Regions from separate parts of the Homo sapiens genome. Here regions 1 and 3 are each linked to region 2. The links are contacts of gene promoters, found by promoter capture Hi-C in human tissues and cell types (Jung and others, 2019). All regions are on one chromosome and are shown on one strand. Each heading gives the region's core, a stretch centred on a gene start or on the middle of the fragment in contact. The rest is flanking DNA. Distances are from core to core; before and after follow the strand shown.

The links. Contacts are between HindIII fragments. The study calls those that stand out against the background at their distance.
Region 1: a contact is called between a fragment that was not itself captured here and the fragment with the promoter of GSG1L in region 2, in 2 of the 25 tissues and cell types used here (liver and spleen).
Region 3: a contact is called between a fragment that was not itself captured here and the fragment with the promoter of GSG1L in region 2, in 2 of the 25 tissues and cell types used here (dorsolateral prefrontal cortex and spleen).

Annotation. Positions count from the first base shown.
Region 1 is chr16:28,145,361-28,149,019 of GRCh38, forward strand. It overlaps XPO6 (exportin 6), which reads right to left. Exons shown (of 24, transcript NM_015171.4): 9 at 734-843. Among named protein-coding and RNA genes, the nearest start is that of XPO6, 65 kb to the right of the region's middle. RefSeq lists an enhancer at 1,209-1,724. The HindIII fragment of the contact is 5,335 bases long and covers 1-3,659 here.
Region 2 is chr16:28,061,725-28,065,061 of GRCh38, forward strand. GSG1L (GSG1 like) reads right to left here and starts at 1,990. Exons shown (of 7, transcript NM_001109763.2): 1 at 1,352-1,990. The coding sequence starts at 1,700. The HindIII fragment of the contact is 12,466 bases long and covers 1-3,337 here.
Region 3 is chr16:28,127,969-28,131,430 of GRCh38, forward strand. The region is part of intron 12 of XPO6 (exportin 6); the gene reads right to left. Among named protein-coding and RNA genes, the nearest start is that of GSG1L, 66 kb to the left of the region's middle. The HindIII fragment of the contact is 4,971 bases long and covers 1-3,462 here.

The sequences.
Region 1 (3,659 bases), core at 475-2,974, 83 kb after region 2:
TCTCCCCACCCTGTGGCACAAAGAACATATTGTACAGGAAATATACTCTCTTCCTGCAAGCAAGAAAAATGGGTTTGAGAAACATATGGGGGGGGAAACAAACCATTCCGCATTCTCTGTTTTTTAAAAATACAACAAAAAGTGCAAAAGCAATTATCTCTGGGGTGTGGGATTATGTTTATCTTCCTTACATTTTCCTATATCTTTTCCTAGATTTAAAAATGAACACCTTTTTCTTAACAGGTATTTATTAATTTATTTAGGAAATTTTCAAACACATACAAATGGGGTAAGAACATAATGAACCCCAAGTTCCTAGGAACTAACTCCAACATCAATCACCAACACATGGGCAGCCTGTTTCTTCTCTACAGGAACCCACTTCCCTTCTACCCCCACTGGGTTATTTAAGCAAATCCCAGATGTCATATCATTTTATCCAATAAATACTTCAGTTTGTATCTCTAAAATAAGGGCTATTAAAAAATTAAGAACATTAACACAAATGCACTAAAATATAAAAAATTAGTAATACATATTACTTTTAAAATTTTAAAAAGTCTTAACAAAATACTTAAAGGAGAAAAAAAAGGAAATGCTCAATGGCATTATTGCCTAAACAGCTTACATGACTCAGCTTCACTGAAAAGGTCCAAATGCATGGCTGTCTCTTAGGCCACTAGAATAACTGGCAAAATGACCATATCTAGTTTTCAGTGTTTGAGGAGTTTACCTGTTGAGAACTGCTTCCTTGTCTCCAAGACGACTTTTAATTTTACTTGTCAGATAGTCCAAAAACAGCGTCCAGATATCCAAACAAGAGAAGTAACCTTCATGAGTAGGCTATGGTACAAAAAAAATCCAGACAATGAAATTATTTAATGCTACTATTCCTTAGAAACACACACATGCCAGTGTTTAATTCCAGCAGAATGATGAAATCATAAGCCTAGATTCCCCAGTTTCCTGGTAACCAAAACTGGTGGCTTTTAGTCGGTCTATACCATTGGGCCCTCCTGAACCTTACAAGACAAGGGTACCATGGAACACATCATGAGGGAGATACTGTGCAGCATAAACTGAGTTATAAAATAAGTCAAGCAAAAACCTATCTTAAAATCTGAGACTGGTAGAGAGGGCTCTTACAGATCATCTAGTTTAAATCTATTTTCCAGAGAGAAATCGAGATTCAGAGATATAAGTTGTTCAAGGCCAGAGGTAAAAACAAGTCCCTTTACCCCCAGCCAATGCTCTTTCCATTACAAACCATTACGAAAGCAAAAATCAGTTTCAGTGGCTCCAAAGGTGACAGGTTCACACATTTGAATGTAAGGAAAGTAACACTTGCAGTCTTCCTACAGAACAGACTGAAAATGAGCTCATTAAGTCTGACCCTCAGGGCATTATCCCATTTGCAAAAGCAAGGGTGTCAAACGTGCTAATAGCAACCTCCAACCAGGTGCTGATGTGGAGGAACAAAGTGAGAAGTCTTTGTAGGATCCTAGTAGTACAATGAAGACCACTGCACTAGTTAACTTTCTCAAGGGCTCTGAGACTCTATTTCATGCAAAGTCCAGGCAACACAATCTCCAACAGCTACTCCTTCCCCTATGCATTCAGGTTCAACTTGTGGCTCCAAACCCTGATATCTCCACTCAAATGCTCACTACCTGAAAGACTCCTTTGGTTTTGCTGGTGGCTGTCTCACTGGACCACATATTTGGTGACAAGATCAAATATGAAAATAAATAATAACATGACCTTCTTGGATCAGTTTCTTTCCATTGCTGATCCACATGGAAATCTAGACGTTTACAAGGGCATACATGGAGGTGCCCAAGAAATAACTAACAATGGGTGGTGGTATCCAGTGGGAGTTCTGTACCTAAGCTGAAGTCTGAGACAGAATAAGTGTAACTTGGCTGGGCGTGGTGGCTCATGCCTGTAATTCCAGCATTATGAGAGGCCACGGCAGGTGGACTGCTTGAGACCAGGAGTTCGAGACCAGCCTGGGCAACATAGTGAGACTCGGTGTGTATATTTTAGAAAAAAAATTAAAATAGGAAAGGAAAGGAAGAAAAAGAAAGAAAAAAGAAAAGAGTGTAACTTAAAAAGCCAGGCAAATTCCAACTTCACGACCCAAAGGGTAGCTCTGGAACTAGACAGGACCAACCTCAGAAAACAAAATGACCAAGTCCTGTCTCTACCTCATACTTGGCAATACTGACAATATCCACGACATGAAGTGAACCAGGAGAATAACCAGGAAAAACAATGAATAAGCCACATGGAAATGATACGGCAGCCAGACCGAGTGGCTCACATCTGTAATCCCAACACTTTGGGAGGCCCAGGCGGGTGGATCTCTTGAGGTCAGGAGTTTGAGACCACCCTGGCCAACATGGTGTAAACCCTTTCTCTACTAAAAATACAAAAATTAGCCGAGCATGGCGATGCACGCCTGTGATCCCAGCTACTCGGGAGGCTTAACAGGAAAATCGCTTGAATCCAGGAGGCGGAGGTTGCAGTGAGCTGAGATCGTGCCACTGCACTCCAGCCTGGACAACAGAGCAAGACCCTGTCTCAAAAAAAAAGAAGAAATGATATGAGTAGTCCTTGGACAGGCCACTAGACTTGCCCATCCAAGAGACACACTCTTGTCCTAGGTTCAACTTGCTGAGCTTCCCTCAAGTCAATCACCAAGGTTATCCCTCCTTGGTTCAAAACTATCCACTAGCCCCCTCAAAAGAGCACAGCTCATCAGATGCATATGGAAGTGCCTTTGGGAAAGGTTACCACATAAATCCAAGTATTATGGCTCCGTCAAAGTACTTTATAATTATACATATAAACTTCATGCATGTGAATTGAGGACTTGCTATATGCTCAAGGCTGGGGGAAAGGTGAGCAGACACACCCTGTATAACCTGAAGCACCACCTTTCACATCCATTCCTGCAGGCCCCACTGCGAGGGCTTGTGCACTGCCCACAGGCCGCCCATGACCTGGCCTCTGATAGTTGCTGTGGACATGGTTCATTCCGGTCATCAAGATGATGGGCTGGCTCCATTTTTGAAGTCGCCTAACTTTTCAAAACCTTCACAGACCCATTTTTAAAATGGACCTAGACCCCAATTTACTTTTCAGATTCCAGGGCTACAAATCCAGGTTTCTTTAAGAAACTAATGATACCATTCTATCTTCCAAGTGGTTTACAGTGTTTAGTTTTCATTTGCATTGGTCTATGTGATCTTCATAAGTCTTGGAAAGTGAACAAATATTTTGCATCTTCCCCTTTTACAGATAAAGAAACCAAGGCTCAAAAGTCAAGTCCAGTCGTATCTTGCCCAAGGTAACAAGACAATTAAGGAACAAAATCAGAACTAGAAAGTGGATCTTGGCCAGGCACGGTGGTTCACACCTGTAATCCCAGCACTTTGGGAGGCTGAGTCAAGTGGATCACCTAAGGTCAGGAATTCGAGACCAGCCTGGTCAACACGGTGAAACCCTATCTCTACTAAAAATACAAAAAATTAGCCGGGTGGGATGGTGCTTGCCTGTAATCCCAGCTACTCAGGAGGCTGAGAGGTAGAACTGCTTGAACCCAGGAGGCAGAGGTTGCAGTAAGTCAAGATCGCACCATCGCACTCCAGCGTGGG
Region 2 (3,337 bases), core at 740-3,239:
AGATAAACGCAGTGGTGAGATCCAAAGATGGAGACCCTCCCTCCAACGGGGAGCTCACAAGGTTGTCCCTCCTCAGTATCCTGACATGGAAGGCAGGTGGGAGAGTCCCAGTGAAAGGAGCCCCTGAAGAAGGAGGTGGGGCGGGGAAGGGCATTCCAGACAGAGGATGCAGCCTGTGCAGAGGCCTGGAGCTTTTCACTGGGTTCGCTTCACAGCTTCCTCCCTCTGCCCTCTAAACCACTTAGGCCACTGGCTTATTTAGGGCAAACTAAGGGTGGAGGTCTGCTGTAACCCACCCTTGAGCACACACATATGTGTGGTGTCCACACTGAGGAGCTAGGCATGCAGGGAGGAGTTTTAACCTTGGAGAAAGAGGTCAATTCACTCAGGAGGGTGTCCATGCCTGGACACCCGCTCAGAGATACCACGTCTTTCGGGCCAGCTCTACCTGCTGTGTGGCACAACCAGCTGTCCGGCAGCTGTCCCCTGGGCCCTGCCACAGCCCGGCTGTCTGCCTCCAAAACACGCACTCCAGCCCAGGCTGCCTCTGGAGGGTAGAGGAGGGGGTCCAGGCAAAGGGGACAGTCTGATCTGCCTTCTGAAAAGTCAGTCCCCCACCGAACCTAATAGGAGCCTTGTGCTAAGCTAAGCCCTCCTGGACTCCTCGACCCGGAGTTTGCCCAGCTGTCCCCAGTTCCCTAGCCTGCCTCTCCCAGGAGGGGGCCAGGATACAGAGGGCTCCCTGGCGTCTGGCAATAGGGGTGCCTCTGGGCGGGTGCGGCTTTCCGGGAGCCCGCGGGACTCCCCCACTCCCCACTCCCGTCTGGGAGGTTCGGCGTGGGTTGGCGATGGGGGTGGAAGGCTCCCGGGTCTGTGGATCTGCGGCAGGAGGGGCGGCTGGTAGCAGGAGTCCCTGCATCACCCCCACCCCCAGGGGCGTTCCGGGGTGGGTGGGGGCATCTAGTGCCCCGCGAAAGGAAGAGGAGGAGGGGGCGAGCGTGGAGATGAGTTCAGGAGCGGAAAGCAGCGCGCGCCCCTCCGACCGGCAGCGGGGGTGGGCGCCTTCCCGGGGCGCGGGAGCGTCCCCAAAGCCGCGGGGCGTCCGCAGCGGGTAGGAGCTCTGCCTTGCACCTCTCCACGGCGGGGCGTCCCGCACGTCCCCCCATGCTGGTCCCCGGCCCCGGAACGGCGCGCGCCCCCTGCCCCGGAACGTCGCCCCTAGCCAGGCGGAGCGCTGGGAGCTGGGCCCAGGCGGCGGGAGGAGGGCGAACGGGTCCGGGGCTCGGGCCTCGATGGCCGCGCCGCCCCGGGGGAGCCGGAGCCGAGCTGGCCGCCGCCCGCGCGCACTCACCAAGCCCGCTGAGCTCCTCCTCGCACGAGTACCAGATGCCGGTGTGGAAATTCCTGAAGAGGAAGCGGTCGTCGCCGGTCTCCCAGCTGTAGAGCGCGCCGCCAGGGGGGCCGTTCCCCGAGGCGGTGGCGGCGGCGGCGGCGGCGGCGGGGGCGGCGGTGCCGTTGGCCGTGGCGTTGGCGCCCGAGTTGGGGCAGTTGGCGCGCCCGCCCTGGCCGCAGCCCGGCTTGGGGACCCGCTGCGTGCCCTGGCACCAGTGCGTGGTGAGGAAAGCGGTGGTGGCGAACAGCAGCGCCAGCAGGTTCAGGGCCACGGCCAGGAGCGCTCGGCCGCGGCGGCTAGTCTTCATGCCGCCCGCGCCGCCGGGACGGGACTGCACCGCCGGGGAGCTCCGCGCGCGAAGTTGGCAGCTGGCGCCCCGCGTCAGCGGCCGCTGCCCGCCGCGCCCCGGGGCTCGGGTGCCTGAGATCGGCGGCGGCGGACGCGGCGCGGGCCCATGCCCCCCCCAACCCCGGGGTGGGGGCGCGGCGCGGGGGGCGTGCGGGGCGGGCTGGCGGGGCGGGCGGCGGTGGAGGAGCGGCTACGGCGCGCCCGGAGCCCGGAGCGCGAGTGCACCTCGGCTAGGAGCCGCTGGCGCCTGGCAGCGGCCACGGCGCAGGGACGCGCGCCCCTCCGTGGGGAGACACCTGCAGGCGGCCGGCGACACTGTTCCGGAGCCCGCCCGCACGGGGAGAGGGGGCCGCCACGCCGGGCGCGGGCGGGGGCCTGGGAGTGGAGGGACGCCCCCGAAAGAAATCCGAGCCAGGGTGAGGGTCTGAGACGCAAGGAGAATCCCAGGCAAGGCGCTCCTGAGAAAAGATCCCCACGGCGGACGTGGGGCAACAAAACCCGCCGGGAGCGGGCATCTCATGAGACCCAGAGAGGCCCTGCCCCAGGAGACAAGGGCAGAGCCTGCTGGGGCTCCCCAAGAGGGACACGGACCAGCAGGACCCTGTCCCAGAAGGGGATCCCCAAAAGGACCCCCGCACCAGACCCTGAGAAAGGAGTTTTTCCAAAGGTTCTAAACAGCAGAGCCTGCAGGGCTTCCCACAGCCAGGGAGCTGCAAGACCCCCTGGATAAGACAACCCATGCTGGACTTGGAGTGGCAGAATCTGTCAGGAGGCGCCCCTCCTGGAGTATTGGGTTATAGGGTTTGAAACGTTTTTCTGTCTCCTGGGTGTCACCTCCAGCATCTGGGAAGAGCTCCCCTCCAAGGATGAAACTGTCATCTGGGCTCCCAACCATGGCATGCAACTGCAGGAAGAGTGGCAACAGGGTACCCCAGACAGCCCACTGCACCCACCTGAGATCCCAAACAGCAGAACCCTAGGAGGGCCCATGCCGGCCACAAAGTTATTGCAGCTACCAGGCAGTGGTGCCCTACAGGGGCTGCCAACCCTGCTCACATGCACACCATGTGAATGTGGGTAGAATCTTCAAGATTCGGGTGGGGGCAGGGTGGCCAAACATACTGACTTTGGGATCAAGCATATCTAGGGCTTGACCAGCTGTGTGGCTTTGAACAGGTCACTTACCCTCTCTGAGCCTCAATTTCCATAACTATAAAAAAGGGAGGACCCCCCCCCCTTCAAGGTATATCACAGTGGGCTGCTGTAATGAGATCATGGCTGCAAAAAGCATTTGGCACACAGTAGACTCAATTAATAATTCACTGTTACTGACATCTGAACCAAGATCAGTTGACCAAACTCAGACAAACCTCTTCAGGCTCTCCTGTGCAACGTGGAAACTGTGTGCAACCCCGTCCCCACCTCTGCTCTAAGATGACCACGCTCCCTGAACTCCCTTCGCGCTGCACAGCACTTACTGCCCAGATGCTCAGGGCGTGCAACAATTAATTGCATGTTGATTATAAGAGCTCATTTGAATTCTGCCCAAGCTGAGAACTGCTCCGACAACCCCCGGCTTGCCGAGTGGCAGGCCTT
Region 3 (3,462 bases), core at 420-2,919, 66 kb after region 2:
AGCTCCTCCAACCACAGCAACAGAATGACCATCCCACCCAGCCAGACGAACTCACGGAACCAATGAACTGAGAGGGATTTTCATCACACTGGTTGTACGAAAGGGAACACAGACTTCATGGGCTACAAAAAGAGACAGCCCCAATCTCTCAGTTAACTGAAGTGCCAAAATTATACACCCTCTGAATGTCAATGGGATTTTCAAGGTTATATCTATGCAACCAACTCCCAGGGTTGACTTCTAAAACCTGCTCCTCCTCTGCACACCAACCAGACCTCAGGGCTCTGTGGGAATAAACTCTAATGAAAAATACACCCTGACACTGGGTATAGCATAGTACAGGCCCAAAAAGAGGGGAGGCCAGCTTTTCTTTCTCAGAGCAACACTGGGGGTCACTGAGTCCGCTTCAGCAGTCCCTGGCACTCTCCACATGCTCAACCTTCATTTCGCACCTCCACCTCCCCCCAGGCTCTACCCTGACCACCAGTTTCCAACTTCTCTATAGTATCCAATTCCTTCAACTAGGTACCTGCTGAATACCTGAGAACAAGCTTCTTAAGTATTTTAAGTGTACAAGGGGAACACTGTATTTGTTTTAAAAACCAAACCAAAACACTACCCTAAATCAAGTTTCCATTTGAGTATGGTCCTTAATAGACAATTACTAGAGAGCTTAAAAGTCGCCCTGACCAAGCCGTCCCCTCTGCCCAGCACTTCCCCTGCACACCCGGCCCTTCAGCCTCTTCCTGGACCTCGGCTGAATGCTAGGGAGCTCAAGGGAGCCCTTCCATCTCTGGACAACTTGGTCACAAACACGGGTAAAGTAAATCTCCCTGTGATTGCTCATCACCCCTGGCCCACTCCTTGAGGGTAGAACACAGAACAAGCCAAAGCCTGCTGACAGCATGATAGCCCTGGGGATGTAACCCCTCATTACCCTCCTGAGAATCCTTGCCATCCTGATCCCTCCCCTCTGAACTTGTCCTATTTTGTCTAGCAAAGAGCAGTACCTAGGATGACAACTATGGGTACCTAGCATCCAGTACCCAGGATGGAAAACAGCTTGGAAGTGCTGGGTGTGTGTTTTAAACTGTGAGTTTGAACAATATGAAACTGTTGACACTTGATCACTTCTGACCCAACAAAACTGCAATTCCATACAGTTCCACTTCACACATATGTGTATCTAAGATCCATGTTCATCAAAAGTACAGCTGGTTCTTTCCTGTTCTATCTGCAAGGCAGACAATCGCATGGGCAATAAATACCCCAAATCAAATTCTCTACCCTTGACACCCCCTCCTTCAGCCTATAAACCTAATTTCACCACCACAAAAGTCACGCAGGGCATCAAGTAAACTTGAGGGGATAGGCCAGTGTCCCACTGTGAAAAGCTGTTCAGATCCACCCACACTTTCTTCTGTCTGGTCAAGGCTTAGATTTCCCCCCAAAAGCACAGGACATCTGCAAGGTAGAACCTTCAGATGAGAATAATGCTGAAAGGTTTGGAGGCACAAAACATCATGGCCACACAAAAGTCCTATCTTCCACAAACCAAGTCATTCTAAAGCTGTCTAGGTATGACCTAAGCCACATCCAAAGAACAGCTCCTTGGCAATTCACTGCCCTAGGGGAAAAAAAAGTCTTAAACATAATTTAGTCTTCTCTTTTTGAGGAGTTGAGGGAGGTCTAAAAATTAGCATTCAGGCATTTCCCTCTGAGAGAACAAATCATAATCATAAATCATAAACGGACCCAAGCAGAACAAACAATTTAAGTCTAAAAATCTTACATAAAATGTTGTAGGCAAAATAATCCCTTACACAGGAAAGTTTGCATGGGTAACCAGAAAAGTTAAAGGGTTACTTAGAGGAGAAATACTGTCTCAATGAAGGAAGATGCCAATGAGGGGTGGCAGAAGTCAAATACAGAATGGAGGCTTTGGGGTCACATACGGATGTCAATGCTGTGCAAGGGGAACACCACCAATGAGGGTTTCTTAACCCACATAAGGTAGAAAAGACAGAGGGAGCAAAGGATGACCTGCCAGGAGCCAGAGCAGCACAGAGCAACCAACGTGGCCCAGCAAGACAAGCTGTGCCTTGGTCTTGACAGGGAAGTGGAGGCAGGCTCAGCAGCAGGAAGGGAAACAGTGAGAAGCACGAGATCTTCTGAATCCAACTGCTCTGACAAAAGCAAAAGTGGGAGCCTTCCAGGCTGGGTAACCACACTGCAGGCCTCACTGCTGGCCAAAATGTGCATCCCATTGTCATACACGGTCACAGCACCAGGAGTAGACAAGAATCGCGGCTGGCGCCCATTTACACAGGCTCCAGAGGAGACCCAAGAACTAAAGGCTGGGCTAGAAAGTAAATGCAAATGAAGGAAGGCCCAGAGCCTATCAGGGATGAGAGGGCACAGTTTCTGCTGAGGGTCATGAGGCTGACTGACTGGTGTGGCATGGAGGTTATTTGAGGGGGTAAATGGCTATGGGAACCAGGGGAAAAAATGTACTCAGAGTTTCCATTTGTTAATAGCCTTTGCACTGGAAACTTGGCTTCTGAGCCACCAAAAATTGGGGAATGCTTTGTCATGGATGAGAGAGCTCGTTTTAAAGCAGGAAATAAGCATTTTTCTGGCCTGGGAGGTTTTGCCACTGGAGTACAAGCCAAGGATCAGTGCTGAGGATGAGATTTATAAATGATCCGGACGAGCCGAGTTCTGTGAAATTGCCAGTAAACAGGCTTTAGTGAAAGCAAGTATGCGGTATTTCCTATAGGAAAAAATAAATCACATTATCCTTCTAGGGAGAAGAGCTCAGAATTATCAGCTATGTCCCAGAAATAGAGTTTCAGATTCACTAGACTTTCACCTAAAGACAGACACAACAGAATGTAAAAACACCAGCTTTTACAAAAGTAAACAGGACACTGAAGGGTCAGTGTGGGGGAGGAAAGAACACCTGCTTGATTTTTTTAATAGATCAAGAACAGTGTCTTCAGGGTCCTGAGTACATTCTAATTTGAATAGTGGTCCTGAAGGAAAGACCACCTGGGCACGATTATTCCCAAAAATGGCTTCTGGAAACATCTGTAGCACTTCTACACAGCCAAATGATTTTCATTAGTGGTGACAGCACATTTTATAAGCATGTTTGTTTTGAAAGTGTCTTTTTAAAGTTTTGTCTTTTTAAATTTCTTACCCTATCTACAAAGTCAGGGCCTACATTCGGGGCATGCCAAGGCCCATCAGCCTCCTGGGGCCCACTAGATTATTTAGAAGCTTATATAGTCATGGAAACCAGCCGTCACAGACCACCAAGGACAGCCTCGGAAAAAGGCTCCTGTGGAGGCTCTGCCATGAATCACAAGCTCATCCAGGAGATGGGCTGCACACTGGGCGGCTCTGTGCTGGGCTGAAACAACAGTTACCCAACACAGGGGCTGCGCACCAGAGCCGGGA